Linked DNA regions of Homo sapiens: all the other regions are linked to region 2. Evidence: promoter capture Hi-C in 16 types of primary human blood cells and fetal thymus (Javierre and others, 2016). All regions are on one chromosome and are shown on one strand. Each heading gives the region's core, a stretch centred on a gene start or on the middle of the fragment in contact. The rest is flanking DNA. Distances are from core to core; before and after follow the strand shown.

Evidence for each region. The method cuts DNA at HindIII sites, captures the fragments that hold promoters and counts their contacts. A CHiCAGO score of 5 or more calls a contact.
Region 1: a contact is called between a fragment that was not itself captured here and the fragment with the promoter of UBE2S in region 2, in 16 of 17 cell types (erythroblasts, total CD4 T cells, naive CD4 T cells and 13 more). The highest score is 16.0, in erythroblasts.
Region 3: a fragment that was not itself captured here is called in contact with the fragment with the promoter of UBE2S in region 2 in 13 of 17 cell types (non-activated CD4 T cells, M2 macrophages, naive CD4 T cells and 10 more); the score reaches 11.1 in non-activated CD4 T cells.
Region 4: a fragment that was not itself captured here is called in contact with the fragment with the promoter of UBE2S in region 2 in 17 of 17 cell types (naive CD4 T cells, non-activated CD4 T cells, fetal thymus and 14 more); the score reaches 15.2 in naive CD4 T cells.

Annotation. Positions count from the first base shown.
Region 1 is chr19:55,171,676-55,177,169 of GRCh38, reverse strand. SYT5 (synaptotagmin 5) reads left to right here. Exons shown (of 9, transcript NM_003180.3): 4 at 1,046-1,165; 5 at 1,294-1,461; 6 at 1,831-1,998; 7 at 2,171-2,288; 8 at 2,520-2,653; 9 at 3,486-5,494. The coding sequence ends at 3,686. Among named protein-coding and RNA genes, the nearest start is that of SYT5, 5.9 kb to the left of the region's middle. The HindIII fragment of the contact is 992 bases long and covers 1,190-2,181 here.
Region 2 is chr19:55,404,729-55,410,676 of GRCh38, reverse strand. It overlaps UBE2S (ubiquitin conjugating enzyme E2 S), which reads left to right and starts at 2,889. Exons shown (of 4, transcript NM_014501.3): 1 at 2,889-3,090; 2 at 3,715-3,862. The coding sequence starts at 3,088. It overlaps LOC105372462 (a long non-coding RNA gene), which reads right to left and starts at 2,532. Exons shown (of 3, transcript XR_936075.3): 1 at 745-2,532; 2 at 360-466. RefSeq lists enhancers at 2,131-2,240, 2,262-2,556, 2,913-3,426, 5,854-5,948 and silencers at 2,661-2,710, 2,721-2,780, 2,791-3,260. The HindIII fragment of the contact is 9,685 bases long and covers 1-5,948 here.
Region 3 is chr19:55,231,909-55,237,914 of GRCh38, reverse strand. It overlaps PPP6R1 (protein phosphatase 6 regulatory subunit 1), which reads left to right. Exons shown (of 24, transcript NM_014931.4): 16 at 945-1,002; 17 at 1,094-1,272; 18 at 5,704-5,840; 19 at 5,933-6,006. Among named protein-coding and RNA genes, the nearest start is that of MIR6804, 4.0 kb to the right of the region's middle. The HindIII fragment of the contact is 3,764 bases long and covers 1,306-5,069 here.
Region 4 is chr19:55,251,009-55,256,404 of GRCh38, reverse strand. All of the region lies in intron 1 of PPP6R1 (protein phosphatase 6 regulatory subunit 1), which reads left to right. Among named protein-coding and RNA genes, the nearest start is that of PPP6R1, 5.3 kb to the left of the region's middle. RefSeq lists enhancers at 1,248-1,297, 1,598-1,737, 2,138-2,247, 2,258-2,477, 2,708-2,787 and 1 more. The HindIII fragment of the contact is 4,391 bases long and covers 1,009-5,396 here.

The DNA of each region.
Region 1 (5,494 bases), core at 436-2,935, 230 kb after region 2:
GATGGTGTTAGGATGACTCCTCTGGAACCCTGTGTAGGACAGATCTGCGGCGAGGGATCCAGGGACGAGGCCAGTGCAGCAGCAGCCTGGAGAGGATAAAAGACATTTGCATTGGATGAGGCCGTTGGAATGGAAAGTGGTCACTGCAGGGTCTGAAAATTAAGTCTCTCAGTGCAGAGTGCAGTGGTTGCCTGGGAGCCAGACAGCCCTAGGTTTCCAACCAAGAAGGACCATTTCCTGGTTGTGTGACCTTGGAGAACTCACTGTCCCTCTCTGAGCCTCAAGTCTGTGGTCACTAACTTGGTATTTCCCCTCCTTCCTTCTCAATAAGGAGCTGTTCAATTAGCATCCGTAAAGGATGCTATTTAGGGTCCTGGTGTCCAGCCCCATCCCTGTCCCTTAAACCAGTGATGTTCAAAGACCGTCTGCAGCAGAATCACACTGGGTACTTGTTGAAATGCAAATTCTGGCACTAGCACCTGACCTATCAAGTCAGAATCCCTGAAGAGGTGACCTCAGACATTTTGCCACAGGATTCAGGGGAATTCAGGTTCACATTGAATTTTAAGAATTGCTGGCCTAGGTTAAGGAGACACCTTCTGCTTTTTCATTCAACTTTAGAATGGCAAGTACACAGTAAATATGCCATTTCTCCTCCATGTTTTGCTGTGCTAAGATCACAAGTAAACATGGCAGTTTGGACTAGCACCCCAGTACATCCATTAGCATGTGAAATAAAACCTGCATTATTCCTGTGGGCAATGGGACACTATCAGCACTTGTTTTAATCTAAGCATGACAAGCACATGTCTAGTTCCTGCCCATAGCAGACACCACTAATCAAACCTTCACAAACATACTGCATCTGTGTTACCACGTCTATTTCCTGCCTGTGGCAGACAGCACTAGTCAAATACTGAATCTGCTTAGCCTGTGAGAGCTCAGGTATAGCCCAAGGGACCTGTGAGCCTCCCTTGGCTTCTGAGCCTGATGGATACTGCTATCAGGGGAAGACTTCACCCACCCTTACCCCTGGCTCCTTAAGGTGCAGCCAGAAGTAGAGGAGCTGGAGCCAGCACCATCCGGGCCAGGGCAGCAGGTGGCAGACAAGCATGAGCTAGGACGACTGCAGTACTCCCTGGATTATGACTTCCAGAGTGGCCAGGTGGGTGTGGAGGAAGGGGAAGCTTTGGAGGGAGGATCCCGGGGGTTCCAACCCCTTCTGAAAGGAGCCATGGAAGGGAGGCTAAGACTAGTGTTCCCCACCTCCCCCACTGTGCCTGGGCCCTGCAGCTGCTGGTGGGCATTCTGCAAGCAATGGGATTGGCAGCCTTGGATCTTGGTGGCTCCTCGGACCCCTATGTGCGGGTCTACCTGCTGCCGGACAAACGGAGGCGGTACGAGACCAAGGTGCATCGGCAGACGCTGAACCCTCACTTTGGGGAGACCTTCGCCTTCAAGGTGAGCTCCTGCCTTCAGGCCCCGTGTTCCATAGCCTGTGCCCAGTCCCTGGAACACTAGGGACCGACCCCTTCCGCTTTTCCTGGAGGCGGCCACAGCTCAGGTGGCAGCTACCAGCTCTGGGGCTATTCCACTGGACCCTGGGCACTACTGACTCCTGGGCTGTAGCCTGGTCCTTGGGCGGTACGATTTGGGTTCCACTGACCCGTGATTTTTTTCCGCATGGATCCCTGGACTTTCCCATTTGAGTTCCCCCAACTGTTCGCTTCGACCCTCGCTGCCTCACTCCATGCCTTCCTTCTGGTTGTGCTGTGCCTCACCCTATCTCTGACTTCCTGCTCTCTACTGCGGATTCTCTGTGCACTCCAGGTCCCCTACGTGGAGCTGGGGGGCAGGGTGCTGGTCATGGCGGTGTACGACTTCGACCGCTTCTCTCGCAATGACGCCATCGGGGAGGTGCGGGTCCCTATGAGCTCCGTGGACCTGGGGCGGCCAGTGCAGGCCTGGCGGGAGCTGCAGGCGGCTCCGCGGGAGGAGGTGAGCATGCGCGGTCGCGCCCCGAGCCACGCCCCCAGGCCCAGTCCCGCCCACAACATCCTGAGCCAATCAGATCATAGGCTTTCCAGACCCTCAGGGCGGCGTGGATTGTACCCCTGAGGAGGCATGGATGTGGAGCCGGGGCTCTGGTGATGGGCCCCTCTCCTTTCAGCAGGAGAAGCTTGGGGACATCTGCTTCTCCCTCCGCTATGTCCCCACGGCCGGGAAGCTCACCGTCATCGTCCTGGAGGCTAAAAACCTGAAGAAGATGGACGTAGGAGGACTGTCAGGTGTGTGGGAAGCAAGGGAGTGGGGTGTGTGGGGATGGCGTGGGGTGGGTTCTCGTTCTGACAGTTTCTGAGCCTCGAGGGTTTCTTCGGGGACAGGGAGGACCTGGCTGCTGTGGAAGGCATGGATTTTGGCATAGAGCTAGGGAGACCCGAAGGGTGTAGGCAGTGTTTCTATGTTGGTCCAACAACCCAGCAGTGGGGAGCTATAAGACTCCTCCTTCCTCTCCCCAGATCCATACGTCAAGGTCCACCTGCTGCAGGGCGGCAAAAAGGTGCGGAAGAAGAAAACCACCATCAAGAAGAACACTCTGAACCCCTATTACAACGAAGCTTTCAGCTTCGAGGTGCCCTGTGACCAAGTCCAGGTGAGCTCAAACCTGCCCTTCTCCAAGAGCCCAGACCTTTAGTAATCGCCATTGCTAGGCGGAGGGAGACTTTTTAGCATCTCCCTAGAAACCAGGTGAGGGGGTCTGAGGTTATGCTCTCAGTCTGTTTCCTCCTATGAGGACCAGGAAGCCTCTTCCACTCCAGGAAGAGACTCCTTAAAATTGGGTGTGGGTGTCCTATCTGCTCTAAGCGGGACCGGGATGTCCCACCCCTAAGCAGTACCAGATGCTCCACCCTAAGCAGGATCAGTATGCCCCGCCCCACCAAGCGGAACCAGGATGCTCCGCCCCCAAGCAGGACCAGGATGCCCCGCCCCCAAGCAGGACCAGGATGCCCCGCCCCCAAGCGGGACCAGGATGCCCCACTCCTAAGCGGGACCAGATTCCCCACCCTAAGCAGGACCAGGATGCCCCGCCCTCCTCAGGAACGTGGTTCTAAGAAAAAGAGACCTCCCCTCACTTCTTTAGGGACGGCGCCTACCCTAGCCCGGCCCCTGTTAAAGTTCTGCAGCTTTGCGGCTCTTAGGAGGCTGCTCCCCCAGGAGGCGCCGAACACACCCGCTCCGCAACCGAGTCCTGAGGGTTCATTTCCTTAGAAACCTGGCTGCGCAGGAAGAAAGGCGCCAGAGCCTCCTCCTCGCCGCAGGCTCCGTCCCTCTCGTCTCCCACCCCCTCCCCCGTCCCGAGCTCCGGGGCCCCGAGCCCTCGGGTGGCAGCGAGAGGTACCCTCAGCCGTGAAAACGGACACCGCCCCTTCCGGGGCCTCCTCCCCTCACGCTCCTCTCTCCTCTTCCTCCCGCGCCCACCCCAGAAGGTGCAGGTGGAGCTGACCGTGCTGGACTACGACAAGCTGGGCAAGAACGAGGCCATCGGGAGGGTGGCCGTGGGGGCGGCCGCCGGCGGGGCTGGCCTGCGGCACTGGGCGGACATGCTGGCCAACCCGCGGCGGCCCATTGCCCAGTGGCACTCGCTGCGGCCCCCGGACCGAGTGAGGCTGCTGCCTGCGCCCTGACTCCCACCCCAAGCCCCCGGCCAAGCCTGGACTCTAGCCCCTGACCCCAGACTCCCGAGACCGGCCAAAGCCAAGCCAGCCCCACCCTTAAGCTTCCTCTGACGGTTACCCTCCCCCCACCTTCCACCCCAACCATCTGAACCATTCCTGTCTTCTCACCCCCAACGATGCCAATCACGACAACTTTCCAGCACACTCCCCCGACCCTCGCGGACACACCCAGATGCCCCAGGGACCCCGGGAAGGGAAGGCAGCCTGGTTTCTCCTGCCCCCGGGTCCTGCCCCCTGCTTTGACAATCAGCCATCCTCGTCTGCTCTCCTCTCTCTTCCAACACAGCCCATCCCTGCACTGCTCCTGGGGCCAAATAAATATTCAGCAGCTCCGGTGGCCTGGGCCCATGCTCCTTGATGGGGGTGGGCAAGGGCTGGGACCCAAGAGGAAACCTCGTTTCCAGGAATGGGCGCTCGCAGGGCGGTGTGAGTGCTGTTCGTCCTGAAAGCCTCTGAGAGACTGGCCTGACCCCATGGACTCCCTCACACTCTCACCCGTTCATTCCTCACTCACCACTCTGAGCCTGGGTTTCCTCCTCTGGAGAATGTTGGGATAATAATAATTCCTGCCACACGCTGGCTGTGAGGAGTCCGCGAGAACTCCCTTGCTTGTCCATGAATTTATCCACTCGCTTGCTCACCCATGACTCACATCGATTTTCATACCCATTTCTGCATCCCTCCCTCCCTCTCTTTTTTTTCTTCCTTCCATTCCATATTCCCTGAGGTCTTCTGTTGAGTGCTGGGGCCCCAGAATATCCAAACACAGACCTGACCCCCCAAGCGACTTACTGCCATCAAAACAAAGGAGAGGCGCGGAGCCAGGGAATACAATCTCCAGAGCCTGCGAGAGAGGTTGGAGTTCAGCAAGGAAAGCCAATGATTTCAACTTCACCTCTTTCTTTTTTCTTTTCTTTTTTCCTTTTTGTTTTCTTTCTGTCTTTCCTTTTCTTTCTTTTTCTCTTGTTTTTTTTTTGTTTGTTTGTTTTTTTGTTTTTGTTTTTGTTTTTTTGAGATGAAGTCTCACTTTGTCGCCCAGGCTGGAGTGCAGTGGCACGATTTCGGCTCACTGCAAGCTCCTCCTCCCGGGTTCACGCCATTCTCCTGCCTCAGCCTCCCGAGCAGCTGGGACTACAGGCGCCCGCCACCACACCCGGCTAATTTTTTTGTATTTTTAGTAGAGACGGCATTTCACCGTGTTAGCCAGGATGATCTCGATCTCCTGACCTCGTGATCCGCCCGCCTCGGCCTCCCAATGTGCTAGGATTACAGGCGTGAGCCACCGCGCCCGGCCCTTCTTCTTTTCTTTTCTTTTCTATTTCTTTTCTTCTCTTCTTCTTTTTTTTAATTTTGAGACGGAGTTTCGCTGTTGTTGCCCAGAATGGAGGGCAATGGTGCAATCTCGGCTCACCGCAACCCCTGCCTCCCGGGTTCAAGCGATTCTTCTGCCTCAGCCTCTTCTTTCTTCTTTTTTTGACAGGGTTTCTCTGTGTACCCTGGCTGGAGTGCGGTGGGGCAATCATAGCTCACTGCAGCCTCAACCTCCTGGGCTCAGGGGATCCTCCTGCCTCAGACTCCTGAGTAGCTGGGACCACAGGCACATGCAACCATGCCTAGCTAATTTTTTCTTTTCTTTTCTTTTCTTTTTTAGAGATGGGGTCTTGCTATGTTGCACAGGCTGGTTTCAAACTCCTGCAATCCTCCTGTGTGAGTAGCTGGGACTGTAGACATGAGCCGCCGCATCTGACCTCATTGTT
Region 2 (5,948 bases), core at 1,640-4,139:
TACTTTTCACCATGGCCTAGGAGGCCCACCAGCAGCCCCTCACCTCTCCCACCTCAGAGCCCTCTACTTGCTCTGCCTCACTCCAATCCAGCCTCGCTGGCCTCCTAATGTTCCCTAAAAGCACCAAGCACAATCTTCTTGACACCTGCTGTTCCCTTTGCTCAAAATGCTTTTCCCATAGACCTTCCAACAGCCCAAATGACCTTTCCTCAGACAGATTCTCCCTGCCCAGCCAAGGTAAAATGGCAGCCCCATCCCTCCCTCTCAAACCTCCCCCTCCCACTAATTGTTCCTGTCTTTATCACTTGCTGATTGTTCTTCAGTCTTTATCACTTGCTGACATGATGGTATAGACTTACTTGCTATCTGGCTCCCGCACCAGGATGTAAGATCCATGAAAGTCGAGGCTTTGTCCCTTTTATTCTCTGCTGTATCCCATAGCATCCTGACAGCTAGAGTGTAGACACTAATAAAGAAGAACAAATGTATTGAATAAATGCAGGTATCCAGAGGGGATCATAATAATTAATAATATCCACCCATTATGGTTGTTACAAGGATTAAATGACATCAAGCATGTAAAGAAACTAGAACAGGGTCTGGCACACAGCAAATAATACATAATAACCATTAGTATTATCATCATTATTGTTATGTCTTTTGGGTGGATTTTTAAGATCAAGACGAATTTAGCCACTAGCTTTGCCTTGTCCCAGCTGGGGAACCCCGAGCAAGTCACTTTACCTCCTGCTCCTTCAGCTTCCTTGTCTGTTAATTGGGTTGGAATCCTCCACACCCAGCAGGCTAAAATTGAAGATCAGCAAAATGCTTATCGGCAAAATGGGATGACGTTGACTCTAAGCAGGACTGGTGGCATAGCGGATGGGGGGACGTGATGAGATTCAGTAGATGACGTCAACAGGAACTGGTATAGATTGGACCTGGGGTGAGGGAGCAGGAAGGGATCACCTGAAGCCATTTCTCCACAAACTAGTTATGATGATGACTTTTTATGCTGTAGCTGTTTCTTCAGTTGTTTTGGGTTTGTTTGTTTTGTACATATTGGTGGGGGTCTCTCACTATGTTGCCCAGGCTGGTCTTGAACTCCTGGGCTCAAGTGATCGACCTACCTTGGCCTCCCAAAGTGCTGGGATTATGGGCGTAGTCACTGTACCCGACCATGTAGGTTTTGTTTTTTGGTTTTTTTTTTTTTTTTGCTTTTTTGTTTTTTGAGACAGGGTCTTGCTCTGTTGCCCAGGCTGGGGTGCAGTGGCGAGATCTCAGTTCACTGCAACCTCCACATCCCGGCTTTAACCGATTCTCCCATCTCAGCCTCACGAGTAGCTGGGATTACAGGGCTGCATCAACACACCTGGCTAATTTTTGTATTTTTAGTACAGATGGGGTTTCACCATGTTGGCCAGGCTGGTCTCAAACTCCTGACCTCAGGTGATCTGCCAGCTTCAGCCTCCCAAAGTGCTGGGATTACAGGCGTGAGCTACCACGCCTGGCCTTGGCCATGTAGATTTCTTTCACACCTTCCTTATTCCTTCTTCAGAAGCTGAGGCCCCATGAGGGGAAGCTGGTAGCCAGGGGTCTTTTCAGGTACCTGTGGCCAAATTAGGCCCAGATGTTAATGCTCTCATCCATGGCTGAAAAAGGCCAAGAAACTAAGAAGAGCTGTGGACGCACAGACTGGCAGAGACACCGAGAGGGCACTGCGACCGCACTGCACAGATGAGCAAAGGAAGGCCAACTTCAGCATTCCCTCCTCCTCTCTAAGCCCCTCCAAAAGGCCTGCTCAGGGAGCTCTGGCCACCGTTCTCAAGCAATTGCCTGACGTTTTTACTGACACTGAGGGCTGGAGATGGTCCCTTTTCCAGGCAGCTATGTGTCCATTTCCTAGAGAGGGAAACTGAGTCCCAGAGAAGGCGGGTGTGGCTGGAGGCCATGGGTCAGTCATAGGCATAACCATGCCGTGAATAACCGTCTTGGCACTCTCTGACTTCTTTCCCTGGCAATACAACGGATCCCAGTGCCCATTTGTCACATAAGGAAACTGAGGCTGGCGTCTTCGATGAAGCCTGGCAGGAGTGGGGGTCACACACGGAGTGCAAGGCTGTCCAAGCCTTCAAGGTCATTCTGACTGATCTTTGAGCCTTAGCAATACAGGACGTGGGTCCAAGAGCATTTCCAGCACAAAATGGCGCCTCATAGAAAAATGTAGTCGGAGTTCCAGCGCCCACCTCCACCACGGCTCAAAGGAGGGGGCGCGGGCGGCAGCGCACACTTCATTTGCATATACAAAAATCAACGGATTTCGTTGGCTGGCAGCGGTTTGATCTGCACGAAACTGGGTCGCCCTCTGACCGGTCTCTATCAGTCATTGGCCCATGCGAGTCTCGTGACCCACCAGTCACTAAAGCGCATCCCTATTGGCCCGAGCGCCTTCCATCACGCGTTTAAAACCCCGAGTCCCGCCTCCCCTCGCCACGCTCCGGCCCCCAGGAAGACCGTTAGTCGCGTGCGCGACTTCCTCAGCGTCAGGGCGCGCCCGCGCGTATGCCGGGCCGTGGCGGCGTCTCATTCAAACGGTCCAATCAGCGGCCGCGTCGCCTTCCCCGTCCCCCTTCCTCTCTTCTTCCCCTTTTCAGCCCCTCCGTTCTTTGAGAACCCTCCCGACCCCCGCGGGCCCCCATTGGCCGGCCCGCTACCCAGCCCTCTCCGCCACTTCCCTCGCTTCTGACCATAGTTTGCGGGGAAGGGAGCGAGCGCGTCGAAAACCAAGGAACGTGCGCGCTGACGTCACGGTTGAGGCTCGGAGCTGAGGGGCCGCGGAGGGCGTGGCCTGCGGGCGGTTATAAAGAGGCAGTGGTGCGCGCGCGGCCGGCTCAGTGCTGCCGGGCACCGGGGCGGCGGGTTGGTCTACGCTGTGCGCGGCGGACGTCGGAGGCAGCGGGGAGCGGAGCGGGGCCGCCGGGGCCTCTCCAGGGCCGCAGCGGCAGCAGTTGGGCCCCCCGCCCCGGCCGGCGGACCGAAGAACGCAGGAAGGGGGCCGGGGGGACCCGCCCCCGGCCGGCCGCAGCCATGGTGAGCACGGGCGATGAGGCCCATGAAGGTGGTCGGGGGTGTCCCTGAGGGAGGAGGTGGAGTCTCAGGGGCCTCCGACGGGCGGCCTTGAGGGGTTTGAGGGCCAGCCTGGGGGTCCCTGACCCGGGATGGGCCCGAGGGCCTTCCCGCAGGCGGAGCAGGAGCTCGGGCGGCCCGCAGTCTCCCTGGCGGCGAGGGCTCCGGGCGCTTTGCGGCCCGCCCATGGGTGTTACCAGGAGCAAGGACGCCCCGCCGCCATCTCCAGACCTGAGCCGGGGTTTCAAGGATGCTCTAACCAAAAATTAGTGGAGAAGGGGGAGAGAGTAGATCTCTGGCCTACGTGGAACCACTGGGGACCAAGCAGGGTTAGGAGCGGGCTTTGGGGGGGGGGTTCTGGGGTGGGTGGAGTTATCTGCAAGCCCCCCCGTGAACCCGCCCCCATTTCTGTTGGAAACTCTGCCTGGGCTGATGGCCTGAAGCATCCTGGGTGAGGGTCTGGGAGTTCAAGGGTGATTGACAGCCTGGGGCCACTGAGTCAAGACTTGGGCAGTCTCAGCATCTTTAGGCCCTGCGGGAAGCCCAGCTCTTAACACTCGCTCACCCTGCTCTCCCATCCGTGCCCAGAACTCCAACGTGGAGAACCTACCCCCGCACATCATCCGCCTGGTGTACAAGGAGGTGACGACACTGACCGCAGACCCACCCGATGGCATCAAGGTCTTTCCCAACGAGGAGGACCTCACCGACCTCCAGGTCACCATCGAGGGCCCTGGTGAGTTTGGAAGGAAAAAGAGAAGGGGCTGCTGCTTAGATCCTCCATCACCCTGCTCTAGATCACCCTAGCGGGAAGTACCCATTACAGGCTGGCCTCGTGTCAGGTGTTGGGATGCATTGGTGGACAGGGCAGGACGCCACAAATGACAATTATGTACTCTTTTCCCACAAGGGTTGAGAAATATCTGGTCATTGAGTTAGTATATCATGGGACGGTACTCTAGATTTGAAGCAAGGCTTTCAGACATGGCTTCCCTGGACCTGAGGGTGGGTAGGAATTAAGTAGGAATGGGAAGAGAGCTCCAGGTGGTGGGAATGGTGTCAGCAAGGGCCTGGGAGGGTGGGCCAGGTGATCTCAAACTCCATCCTGCTGTGAGTGTCAGGGATGAGGAAACAAGCCAGATGCAGATCGTGGGGAGACGGGTCATGAATGATTTGCGGGTCACATGATTTGCGGAGTGATTTAGAATACTGTTTCATGCAGGCTACATTTCTGTTATCACCAGAATTCCTACAAAGTCAGGATTTGAGCAGAGCCTGTGAAGGAATGGTCTAGTCCACGGTGGTGATGGTGGTAGGTGGTCAGGAAAGACCTGGCAGCGGTGACAGTTGAGGTCCTTCATGCCTTGCTGCAGAGGGCGCGGGATCATGACAATAGGAAGGCTCCAGAAAGGCCCTTGGGCAGGTGGAGCTGGGCGCTTGGTAAAAACACATGAAGAAAGTTGATGATGAAGCTGCCAAGCTCTTTTAGGGCTTCTAGGCCTCTTCAAGGAGTTTGTAGAGGAAGCTGGTGGAAGGTTTAAAGCAGGGGTGTGACAAATCCCTCCAAAGTTCCTATTGACTGTAGTGAGGAGAGCCGGCCTGGCAGGGGGAAGAACCCAGAGGCCAGCCAGGAAGCTAGCCTTGGAGATGGGATGAGATTCAGGGGAGGACCTAGCAGGCCGGTGCTCAGGCTGCTGATGGGCTAGGGGAGGGACAGTATTTTGACCCAAGCAAGTGGGTGAGTGGGAGAGGCGTTCACTGGGTTGGGAGGCTGTGGAATTAACAGACAGTTGGATCCTTGATCTGAAAGGCATATAAATGGGCATCTTATAGGAAAGTGCGTACTTGGGTCCCTGCCACCTGGGAAGGGCCTGTGACTGGAGTGGTCAGTTGGGCTGAGACGGGGGATCCAGGAGGGTGCAGACGAGCTTGATAGTGACACAGGTGGGGGCTGCAAGATGGGCATCATCTCTGAGGTTTTGGGGGAGGTCCTGTGGCCCCCTAGGAACCCAGCCATTCTTGCTCTTTTTTTTTTCTCTCTCTAAACGGAGTCTTGCTCTGTCGCCTAGGCTGGAGTGCAATAGCACAATCTCTGCTCACTGCAACCTCTGCCTCCTGGGTTCAAGCAGTTCTCCTGCCTCAGCCTCCCAAGTAGCTGGGATTACAGACGTGCACCACCATGCCCAGCTAATTTTTTGTATTTTTAGTAGAGATGGGGTTTCACCATGTTGGCCAGGCTGGTCTCGAACTCCTGACCTTGTGATCCGCCCGCCTCAGCCTCCCAAAGTGCTGGGATTACAGGTGTGAGGCACCGCGCTTGGCTTTTTTTTTTTTTTTTTGGAAACAGAGTTTCGCTCTTGTTGCCCAGGCTGGAGTGCAGTGGCGCGATCTCCGCACACTGCAACCTCCCCATCCCGGGTTCAAGGGATTCTTCTGCCTCAGCCTTCCGAGTAGCTGGGATTACAGGCATGCACCACCACGCCTGGCTAATATTGTATTTTTAGTAGAGACGGGGTTTCTCCATGTTGGTCTGGCTGGTCTTGAACTCCTGACCTCAGGTGATCCACCCGCCTTAGCCTCCCAAAGTGCTGGGATTACAGGCGTGAGCCACCACACCTGGCCTCTTGCTCTTAAGAATTCTACAGCCTGACTGGGCATGGTGGTTCACGCCTGTAATCCCAGCACTTTGGGAGGCTGAGGTGAACAAATTGCTTGAGCCTAGGAGTGCAAGACCAGCTTGGGCAACATAGTGAGACCCTATCTCTTAAAATAAAAAAGTAGCCAGACCTGGTGGCATGCCCGTAATCCCAGCTACTTGGCAG
Region 3 (6,006 bases), core at 1,938-4,437, 170 kb after region 2:
AACCCAGAAAGATTTCCGGAATGGAAAGTGGATGACTGGTTTGATCATCTCAAGGCTGAAGATGCTGCCCCGCATAGCTCCTGTAGCAGAAGCCAGGTCAGCTGAGGCTGCCAGTGCCACGGGGACATGGGCTGCCCTGCCCTAGACCCACTGTGTGCCCAGCGTGGTCTCTGCTCCGCTGCTTCTCAGTGTCTAGGAGGGACTAAGGACACTTGCCTTGGAAGGTGGTTGTGAGAATGAAGTGCGTGAGTAATGTCTGTCACATACTTAGTGTCCTTTAAGAATTAACTGTCCTTTATCCATTGATCTTTGTGGCAGAATTTTTCATGAATTTGAGACAAATGATCCCTTGAACTGTCCGTAACACGTGGGACAGAATGTGGACCCTGATCATTAGACCCTCGTGGTGAGGGAGGTGGGGCCCTGGCAGGCACAGTTTAAGTTTTGACGTGATTCTTTTTCCCATAATTTAGAATTTCAGCCGCGGACCGTAGACATCTTGAGGTTAGGGGATGTGCTTTATTGGGCTGTAGTCTCACATTCTGCTTGTGCCTGGCTGGTGTGAGTGTCAGCCTCCTACAGATGCCCCAAGGATGGGGACAAGGGCATGGATCTGAATCCCTCTCTGGCACCTGTCCTTGGAAGAGCCTGAGGAGAGTCGCTTAACATTTCCGAGCCCCATTTTCTCACTTCTAGAGCCAAGGGAAACAGCCTACCTCAATGAGTGGTTTTAAGGATTTAAAGTGATCATATGTGAGATGTTGATATTCATGTATGCGTTGCCCCTTAGGACCAGTGGTTCGGGTTGTGTGTGAATTTGCAGATACCAAATCTGCAAGTAATGAGGGTCAGCTCTGTGTTGAGTGAAGAAAGAAATGTGGCCTGTCCTGTGCTGCCCCCACCCCCAGGTGGACCTTCTCACCATGCCTTGCCTTCTCTCCTAGCGCACCTTTTGACAAGACAGCCAACATCACCTTCTCCCTCAATGCTGACGATGAGAACGTGAGTACTGCCCTGTCCCCTGGTTGTGGCGGGTGGAGGGGTGTGGGGCTGTGGGCAGTGTGGCCCATCCTCCCACCCCTGTGCCCTGCAGCCCAACGCCAACCTACTTGAGATATGCTACAAGGACCGCATCCAGCAGTTTGATGATGATGAGGAAGAGGAGGACGAGGAAGAGGCCCAGGGCTCAGGGGAGTCTGATGGAGAAGATGGCGCCTGGCAGGGCAGCCAGCTGGCCAGGGGGGCCCGTCTGGGCCAGCCACCTGGTGTCCGGTGAGTCCCCCTCCAGTTTCCCTTCTCCAAGCTTCCACCACACGGCAGGGCCAAGGGGTCCCCCCAACACATTTGGACTGAGGCTGAAGTGAATGAAGAAAATAAGGAACCTGCATTGGTGTGTGTATTAGTTGGGGGCACTTTCACTTTTGAGTGATAGAAATCTAATTCAAGGCCAAGCATGGTGGGCTCATGTAATCCCTGAGTGCCTGTAATCCCAGTACTTTGGGAGGCCAGGGCAGATGGATTGCTTGAGCTCAGGAGTTTGAGACCAGCCCTGGGCAACATAGGGAGATCCTGTCTCTACAAAAAATACAAAAGTTAGATGGGCATGGTGGTGTGCACCTGTAGTCCTGGCTACTCGGGAGGTTGAGGTGGGAGGATGGCTTGAGCCAGGGAGGCAGAGGTTGCAGTGAGCCGAGATCATACCACTGCACTCCAGTCTGGGCAACAGAGCCAGACTTGTCTCAAAAAAAAAGGTAGATGATGCATTAAGAAATCAACAAATTAGCCGGGCACAGTGGCTCAAGCCTGTAATCCCAGTACTTCGGGAGGAGGCCAAGGTGGATGGATCGCTTGAGCTCAGGAGTTTGAGACCTAGCCTGGGCAACATAGCGAAACCCTGTCTCTACAAAAATTACCTGGATGTGGTGACGTGTGCCTGTAGTCCCAGCTACTTGAGAGGCTGAGGTGGAAGGATCGCTTTACCCTGGGGGGCGGAGGTTGCAGTGAGTTGAGATCGCACCACTGCACTCCAGTCTGGGTGACAGAGACCTGGTCTCAAAAAAAAAAAAAAAAAAAAGAATCAACAAATTAAAAAAAATCAGCCGGGCACGGTGGCTCACGCCTGTAATCCCAGCACTTTGGGAGGCTGAGGCGGGCGGATCACGAGGTCAGGAGATCAAGACCATCCTGGCTAACATGGTGAAACCCCGTCTCTACTAAAAATACAAAAAATTTGCCGGGCGTGGTGGCGGGCACCTGTGGTCCCAGCGACTTGGGAGGCTGAGGCAGGAGAATGGCGTGAACCCGGAAGGCGGAGCTTGCAGTGAGCCAAGATTGCGCCACTGTACTCCAGCCTGGGCGACAGAGCGAGACTCTGTCTCAGAAAAAAAAAAAAAAAGGAATCTAATTCAAATGAGTTAAGTTATGAAAAGAAAGGGATAATCTCTGTGGCTGAAAAAATAGGCAGGTCCTGAGGTATGGCTTGGTCTGTGTGTGTCTCTCTCTTCCCGCCTCCCTGTCTCCTTCCTTCATCCCTTCACTTCACTTCCTCGTGTTAGCTCTCACACGTTTTCCTAGAAAGGGGGGTAAGATGGTCCCAGGCAGCTTCTCTCTTCTCTAATTCCAGTAAAATGAGAGATGATGACGTCCCTCTCCAATCAGGCTGTGATGACATTTTAGTGCAAATGTTACATTGTTTTTTTTTTTTCTCTTAATACTGGCCGGCCCCAGAGTCGCTGTGATGAAATGGGTTCATGCCATGTAGATTTGACAGCCTGAACACTAAGTCATCATCTGCAACTGAGTTTTTGACTCATGACTTTTGATTTCGGAATTAGGCTGTTTTCACTTTTTATTGACATGTAACATGCGTATAGACAAGTGTACATACAGATCCTGAGTGTGTGGCCAATGGATATCCTTCCTCAGTGCCCAGACCCAGGAGCAGGACCTTCCCAGTACCCACATCCCCTCTGTTAGCCAGTATCCTCCCTTCTGAGGGTAAAGTTGTCCTGGCTTCTAACCCTGTAGATGAGTTTTGTCTCTGTTTTCACTTGATATAGCATACAGCATCTCCTTTTATGTCTGACCTCTGTTGCTCAACACTCTGCTTGTGAGCTCCTTCCCTGTTGTGTGTTTGGGTGCCCCTGGCTCTCGTGCAGTGGGGCAGTGCCATGCATGATGAGCTGCAGCTGAATTGCTTGTTCTGCAGTTGACAGGCCTTTGGGCAGGTTCCTGTTGCTCGCTGCTGTGAGTGCAGCCGCTGTGAGTGCGGCCGCTGTGAATACCCTTGCACGTGTTGTTGGTGCACAAGTGTGTCACTGCCAAATCCAGCATCTTGACTTAGCCCTCTCTTTTCTTCTAAGAGTTTTATAGCATTATTTCTATGGTTTTCCATTCATTTTGAGCTAAATTTTGTATATGATGTGAGGTGGTCCACCTTCATCCCTTTACATATAGATAACCAGTTTTCCCTGCACCAGTTGTTGAAGACACTGTCCTTTCTCCACTGAATCATCTTGGCACCTGTGTAAAAAGGAAATATTTGACCATATGTATGAGTTTGTTTCTTCCCTCTCTGTTCTGTTCTATCAGTCTGTGTGTTGTTTTTATCCAGTACCACACTGGCCTGGTTGCTGTTGCTTTATAGTAAGTTTTGAAAATGGGAGGTTTGTTGGGCACGGTGGCTCACACCTGTAATCCCAGCACTTTGGGAGGCCAAGGTGGATGGATCACCTGAGGTCAGGAGTTTGAGACCAGCCTGGCCAACATGGTGAAACCCCATCTCTACTAAAAATACAAAAATTAGCCGGCTGTGGTGGGTGCCTGTAATCCCAGCTACTCAGGAGGCTGAGGCAGGAATATCGCTTGAACCTGGCAGGCAGAGGTTGCAGTGAGCTGAGATCGCACCATTCATTGCACTCCAGTCTGGGTGACAAGAACGAAACTCCATCTCACAGAAAAAAGAAAATGGGAGGTTTTAGTTTTCCAACCTTGTTCTTCTTTTTAAAGATTGTTTTGCCCTATTTGGGATTTCTTGAGATTCCATATGAATTTTAGGATCAGCTTGTCAATTTCAACCAAGAAGCCACCTTGCGTCTTCTAATACGTGAACATGGATGTCTTTTTATATAGGTCTTAAAATTTCTTTCAACAATGTTTCGTAGGTTTTAGAGTATGAGGCTTTGTATTTCTTTTAAGTTTATTCCTGTTTTCTTCTTTCTGTTACTATTGTAAATGGAATTTTCTTGAAATTGTTTTCAGATTGTTACAAGTATATGAAAATACAATAGGTTTTTGTATGTTGATCTTTCATCCTGCAACCTTGCTGAACTAATGTATGAGTTCTGATAGTTTTAGTGGACTCCTTAGGATTTTCTATGTACAGAATCATGTCATGTGAATAGAGTTCATTTTCCTTCCTTTCAAATCTGGATGATTTTAATTTCCTTTTCTTGCCTGGTTGCCCTGGCTAGCCTCCGGGACAATGTTGAACAGAAGTGGCAAGAACAGGCATCCTTGTTTTGTTCCTGATCTTAGGGGGAAGCATTCAGCGTTTTGCCATGTAAGCATGCTGTTAGTTGTGGGGTTTTGTAGATGCCTTATGTTAGGTTGAGGGGCTTCCTTTATACTCCTTAGTCGTTGAGTATTTTAGTTTACTTTTAACTATATACAGATATATTACTTTCCAGTTAAAGTAGTCAGTTACTCTGTTAAGACAAAAATATTGGGTCAGCATTTTAGACATAGTATATAGTCCCATACTGCATCTTTGGGTCAGCGATGGACCACATATGACAGTGGTCCCGTGAGATTATAATCCTCTATTTTTGCTGTATTTTTCCTATGTTTAGATACACAAACATTTACCATTGTTAGAATTGCCTGTAGTATTCAGTACTGTAACATGCTGTATAGGTCGGTAGTCTAGGAACAATAGGCTATACCACAGAGCCTAGGTGTACAGGAGGCGCCACCATCCAGGTGTGTGTAAGTGCACTCTAGAATGTTCACACAATAGCAAAATCGCCTAATGATGGCGTTTTTCAGAGTGCACCCTCGTTGTTAAAGCTTAGTTTTAGTGTTACTTTGCTTACCCCTTCCCCGGTTGATCAGCACGTAGGTTGCTTGGATTTTCTTCATGCTCACAGGTGTGTGTTAGTCAACATTCAGCCAGTGTTTTTGGAGCAGCTATGGGTGCCTGGTGGTTTCTCAGGGCTGAGGATACAGCAGTGGCAAAACTCAGCCATCTCTGCCTTCTTGGAGTTTCTAGTTGGAGGGAGAGAGTAGTGTGAAGCCTCTGTCCAGAGGGTGGGCCTGCTGGTGGGAAGGCCTGTCACTGTGGTGACCGTGTGAGGTGACGGCTGGGAGGTGGCTTGAGAGCTGGTGAGTGGGTCTGTCTGCTCTGGTTGCCATGGCTGAGGCTCAGCCCACTTCCCCAGGGCCTGCCCTCCACGGATGACTGGCGACGGACGGTCTCCTTACGGCCGCATTCTGTCCCTGCCCGCCTGTGTTCTTGCCGTTGGCTCAGAACTCCCTCTCCCAGCCTCTCCTGGTGTCGTCACACCCCAGGCTCCCTGGACCCTTCTGTGACCTGCCTGTCATCCCAGCCCGCTCTCCTTGGGCTGACCCTGGGCTGCAGGGAACAGGATGGGTGTCGGCCGGTCTGTCCCACACAGCTAGCTGACGAGGTGGTTTCTGGGGCAGGAGTGGAGGCAGCACAGACAGTGAGGACGAAGAAGAGGAGGACGAGGAGGAGGAGGAAGACGAGGAGGGCATTGGCTGTGCAGCCCGTGGAGGGGCCACCCCTCTGTCCTACCCCAGCCCTGGCCCTCAGCCTCCAGGTGAATGAATGGGCGGTGTGGTCAGGTGTACACAGGGCTGTCTGCCTGCTACTGAGTTCACCCTCCATCCCGCTCCCCCACCTCTATCCCAGGCCCCAGCTGGACAGCCACCTTTGACCCAGTGCCTACAGATGCCCCGACCAGCCCCCGAGTCTCCGGGGAGGAA
Region 4 (5,396 bases), core at 1,955-4,454, 150 kb after region 2:
AATGCTGCCAGTATCTGGTGAGTGGAGGTGGAGGCTAGGGATGTTGCTAAGTGTCCTCCAGTGCATGGGCAGCCCCAACACCGAAAAGAACCGTCCAGCCCAAATGTTAGCAGCGCAGAGGAGGAGAACTTTGCTCCACTGCTGGGGTATGGTGTGTCGTTGTGGCTTATTTGCTCTGTTGTGACTCATGAGCTGTGAGTTGGTGAGTTGTGTATTGCGAGTCACCACCATCTTTGTGGCCATTAGCTTTTGTTGGTTCATCTACTGTTTCTTTCCATTAGAGGAGAACCTGCTTGTCTGGTCCCCCTGCCCATTTTTTTTCTTTTGTGGGATGTGTGGCCCAGTGCTCTTAACAGAACACCTTTCTCTGGCTTCAGTTTTCATTAATTCAACAAGTAGCTTTAGTTGGGCCTGGCCTTATGCTAGATCCTGGGAAGTCGGCATGTTTCAGGGGGAGGCAGATGACTGAACAGGTACATCCTGTCACAGAGCCGAGGCTCACATGCTGTTCCAGGGTGACTGCGGGATGCTGTGGAAGCGGCGTGGAGCAGGCCTCTAACACAGATGCGGGGGGGAGGCTCCCTGGAGGAAGTGGTGTCTGTGTGGGGGCCTGAAGGACCCAGGAGGAGCTAGTCAGACTCGAAGAGCTCCGGGAAGGAGGAGGGAGCAGCCCAGCCCCGGCTGAGGGCAGTCAGGTGTGACGCCCACGCGGGAGGTAGCAAGAGATGAGGTGAGAGAGGCCTGAGAGCTTTGGTGAGAGTGAGGGGCCTTGCCAGAGTGGGAATCACTCGGCACCCGGCTTGATGGGGCTCACCTGCCTTTCCATGCCAAACCGTGGTTTTCCCTTTGCACACCAGTTTTGTGGGTCCTTCTCCAGAGAGTGCTGCCTTATAGTAACCCCATCTGTGAGGTATTTCCCGGATAAGGAAACTGGGGCTCGGTGGGGTGAGATCCTTGGTCTAGGCCACAGAGATTTCAGTTTGGGGAGGTCAAATGGGAATGCAAGCTTTTCTGACTTTGGATCACACTGTAACCCTAACTCTGCCCCTTTCTGTTTTTCCAAAGAGCTATTTCAAATCCGTTCATTGGTCTTTTCCTTTCTTTCCTTTAAACCTGTGGCCAGTTCAGGAGACGATTTGAATGTGGATGTTCAAGTCCCCGTCCCAGTCCTTGGCCAGTGTTTCTAGACTCTTCTGTTTCCTAGTTATTCCATCCTCTGGGGTTGGACCAGGGCTGCTAGCTCCCTTGGGAGGGTGTGCTTCTGGGGCCAGAGGGGGAGGCACTGAGGGTTCTCTTTAAGTGGGGACCCTCCCCAAGGCTTTCCCAAGCCACAGGAAAGCCCTAGCTCATCATCTTGTTGGGCCTTGGGCCGCTCCCCCTTCTCCTCTGGCCCCAGTGGCCCTTTCTATCAAATTGGTGTCCCTGGTTCCTCCTTGCTGGGTGGGTGATGCCGGATTCTGCAGCCGGCACACACCGTAGGTCCTGCCCAGAGGTGGTGGGGTTGCCATTACTGTCACTGCATCCCTGGAATTGGGTGTTCCCAGCCCCCTTTCAGATTTGGCTGAGAGCTGACAGAGGCTTGGGGGACATTAGAGGGAGATGGTCTTGCTGTCCTCCGGACTCTGGGCCCTTTAAGGAGCTGGGTGCTGGCCAGCCTGCTGCTGGTAGCAGGCTCTTTCCCTTCCTAGGGTACCGGCCAGGGGGCCAGGCGTTGGAGCTTCTGCTGAGCATTGGGACAGCTCAGGCAGCTGTTTCTGGAGGCCCCCTGAGGCATCTGTGCCCATGACCTCCATTTCTGGGTGCTCGTGGGTCAGCGCAGGTTGGGAAGGGGTGACAGATGAAGCATGGGCCCACCGGTTCCCTGGCGGCAGAGCTGTGCTTGGGCGGATACGTGCAGCAGTGGGGATGGCTCTGTGGGAGCCGCAGTTAGTGCCTGTCCAAGCAGGGGAAGGAAGGGGCTGGCAGGCCCTTGAGGGGTGGCTGGTGTTGAAGGCCCTAAAACACCACAGCTAAGTCAGAAACCAGAGGCAATAGTGCAGAGCTGGTGGAGGGAGAGCGGCAGAGGTAGTTTTCGTTTTTAATGGCTTCCTTTCTCATTTACAATTTCCCCTTCTTCCGTTTGCAGCCAGACTCATGGTTTTCAAACGGTAGCTAAAAACTAGTGGTAGTCACTTCCGCTTTCTTGAAGTTGCTAAAAGTTGCAAAGAATGGGGGTGGCGGGGTGCATGGCGCCTGCCGTAGTATCCGAATGGTCTGAGGAAAAGTACTTGAGTCACTTAGGCAAATGGGTAGAGTCTTTCTCCTGCTCCTCTGTGTTTAGCACCATCACCTTTGGGGTAGTGACCGGTCCCCTACCTGTCCTGCCAGAAAGCATCTGGACGTGGCCTCAGGGTTGGACCGGAAGAGACTTGCACCTGCTGAGCTCCTGCTGTGTCACGGCCACCTGCTTTAGCTCAATGCCTTTTCACAGCAGCCCGCCCTGGTGGGCTGTGTCTCCTTTTCACGGATGAGGAAATGAGACTCAGAGAAATCAAGCGCCTGCCCAGGTTCACCAGGAGAGTGCGAGTGAAACCCACTCTCCTGCTCCATTCGCAGGGATTCTAGCAGGCTTCATTAGGTTGGGAGAGGGGACTGAGAGGGCTTCAGGCCATAGTGCATTCAGAGGTTGTGGTGGGGGAAAGTTTTTTTCTCTTTTTTTCTGTTCTTCCATATTTGCATCTTCATTCTGTTTAGAGCCTGATAATTGAGGTCTGTAGAGTGTCGACCACTCAATTGCATTTGAGCCTTTCAGTCTATTCTGATTTTCAGAGGAGCCACTTGAGATGGAGAGTTCAGGGCGCTGCCTGGGTTCTCAGGGCCGAAGTTCTTGGATGCCGTGCACCAGCGAGCACCCTCCCGTCTCATTCTGGCTGCCCCTGCCCCAGTTGTCTGGGGAGCTCGGTTTGGAGGGGAAGCCTGACCTTTTCCCCGAAGCAGATGGTTAGTCTGTACCAGGGGTAGGGGGTTTGGGGGCCGAGGGCCATGCCTGTGCCCTTTAATCAGGTATCTTAGAAGTGAACGGTGGGCCTCAGTGTGAGAATTTCTGCCTGTTGTTTAGAGACCAGGGCACACTGGAAGCCTCTTGCTAGCCATGTGGCTCCACCCCTCTGGGCCCCTCTTCCACATGAGACTCTGTCGGAATAATAAGAATTCTTTACTTGGTCTTGATGTGGAGCCGAGACAAGTGTCTCTGCAAGTGCGGGTCCATGGATTTTCTACAGATGCTGGCTTGGTGCTGCTCCTATCCCGTCCCCACTGTGGAGGGGCTCACTTAGCTTAGAGCTGTTGGTGGTGAGGGATGGGGAAGGGGTAACCTGGGTGAGTGCCCCAGGGCTGAGCCTTGGCAGCTTCAGCTCTGCCAGGCTGGCCGGCATCTCATCAGCTCTGCGGACGCTGGGACATAGTGCAAGGCCTGAGCCTGGCCCTGGCTCTGTCCCTGCCATGGCCGATGGCCTGAGGCAGGTTTTTTTTTTTCCCCCAACAGTTTTTATTGAGATATTCTGTACAGTTCATCCATTTAGAGTGTACAGCCAGGCGCAGTGGCTCACGCCTGTAAGCCCAGCACTTTGGGAGGCCGAGGCAGGCAGATCACTTGAGGTCAGGCATTCAAGACCAGCCTGGCCAACGTGGTGAAACCCCGTCTGTACTAAAAAAATGCAAAAATTAGGCCGGGCGTGGTGATTCATGCCTGTAATCCCAGTGCTTTGGGAGGCCCAGGCAGGCGGATCACAAGGTCAGTAGTTCGAGACCAGCCTGGCCAATATGGTGAAACCCCGTCTTTACTAAAAAAACACACACAAAAATTAGCTGGGTGTGGTGGCGCACTCCTGTAATCCCAGGTACTCAGGCTGAGGTGGGAGAATTGCTTAAAACCGGGAGGCGGAGATTGCAGTGAGCCGAGATCGCGCCGCTGCACTCCAGCCTGGGTGACAGAGCGAAACTCTGTCTCAAAAAAAAAAAAAAAAAAAATCAGCCAAGAATGGTGGTGCGCACCTGTAGTCCCCACTACTCGGGAGGCTGAGGCAGGAGATATGCTTGAACCCAGGAGCTGGAGGTTGCGGTGAGCCGAGATCGCGCCACTGCACTCCAGGCTGGGTGACAGAGAGAGACTCTGTCTCAAGAAAAAAAATAATAAATAAAGGGTACAATTCAGTGGTTCTTAGTGTATTCACAACGTTGTGGAAACATCACCACAATTGATTTTGGAACTTTTTTTTAATCACCCTTTCCTTTCAGGAACTTCGCCCAATCCCCGCCAGCTCCTGGAAGCCTGTAAGCTCTTTTCTGTCTCTATGGATTTGCCTGTTCTGGATGCTTCACATAGTTGGAGGCCTGCAGTGTGTGGTTCCTTGGGACTGGCTTTGCTGGCATGGCATGGGCAGCCTATCAGCCTGCTTGGTCTCCCACGGAGAAAGAGGCTGTGTGTGTGTGCTTGCCACGTCTCGGTGCTTTGCTCGCCACAGCCTTAGGCCGGAAATTGGCAGAGTCATGATAAATTTGGCGGTTGCCCCTTGAGATTATTCTGGTCCCAGGTACACCCAGATCAGGAAATCCATTCCCCCTCCCGCTTCCCTCAGCACGCTGGTGAGTCACCTTTGCTGAGCCTGAGTTTTCTCATCTGTGACATGGACACTTGGTGGTCGGCCTGTCGCATTCCTTGTCAAGCGGGCTGGGAAGTAGGGGATGGTCCCTTGAGGAGGTCTAGCATCTGGGCAGAAGTGGGGAGGTGGGGAGTTACCACTGTGCACACAGAGGTTCCCGGAGCAAGGAAGGGAAACAGTTGTATTTCCTTGTGAGGTGGTGGTGCCTTCGTCACTCTTGACACAGGGGAAAATACACACCCATTGCCTGCCCAGGGCGATCTTGCACTTTCCCCCACCTCCTGATTTAGGGACCCCGTAGGAGTGGCTGGGAGGGGCCGGAGTGGGAGTGATTTCACTTCGTCTAACGCCCTGACAGGTACGGCAGCCTCCTGCCTGGGAGGAGCTGGGGCCTTGTGAAAATGAGGTTTGCTTTTCAGCTAATACTTGTGAGCGTTTATTGCCAGGGCCAGGTTCCATGCTAGGTGCTGCCCTCAGGTGCCCATGGTAACCTAGGGGGAAGGTTCTAGAGGAAGCATTGTAGGGCCACGAGTGTGTACCTCCAGTGCTTCATTGCTGTGTCACAGAGATGCTTCCAGGCGGCAGGTCAGAACGCACAGCTCAGGGAGACAGGGAGACAGTGGTGGACAAAGGCGGGGCTGGGGGCTGCTTGAGCCAGGCAGGCCAGGGAAGGCCCTTCTGTGAGGTGAATGCTTAGTAAGAGATCTGAGGATGAGAAAGTGAGTTATTAGGACAAAGTCGCTGGGGTAGACCCAA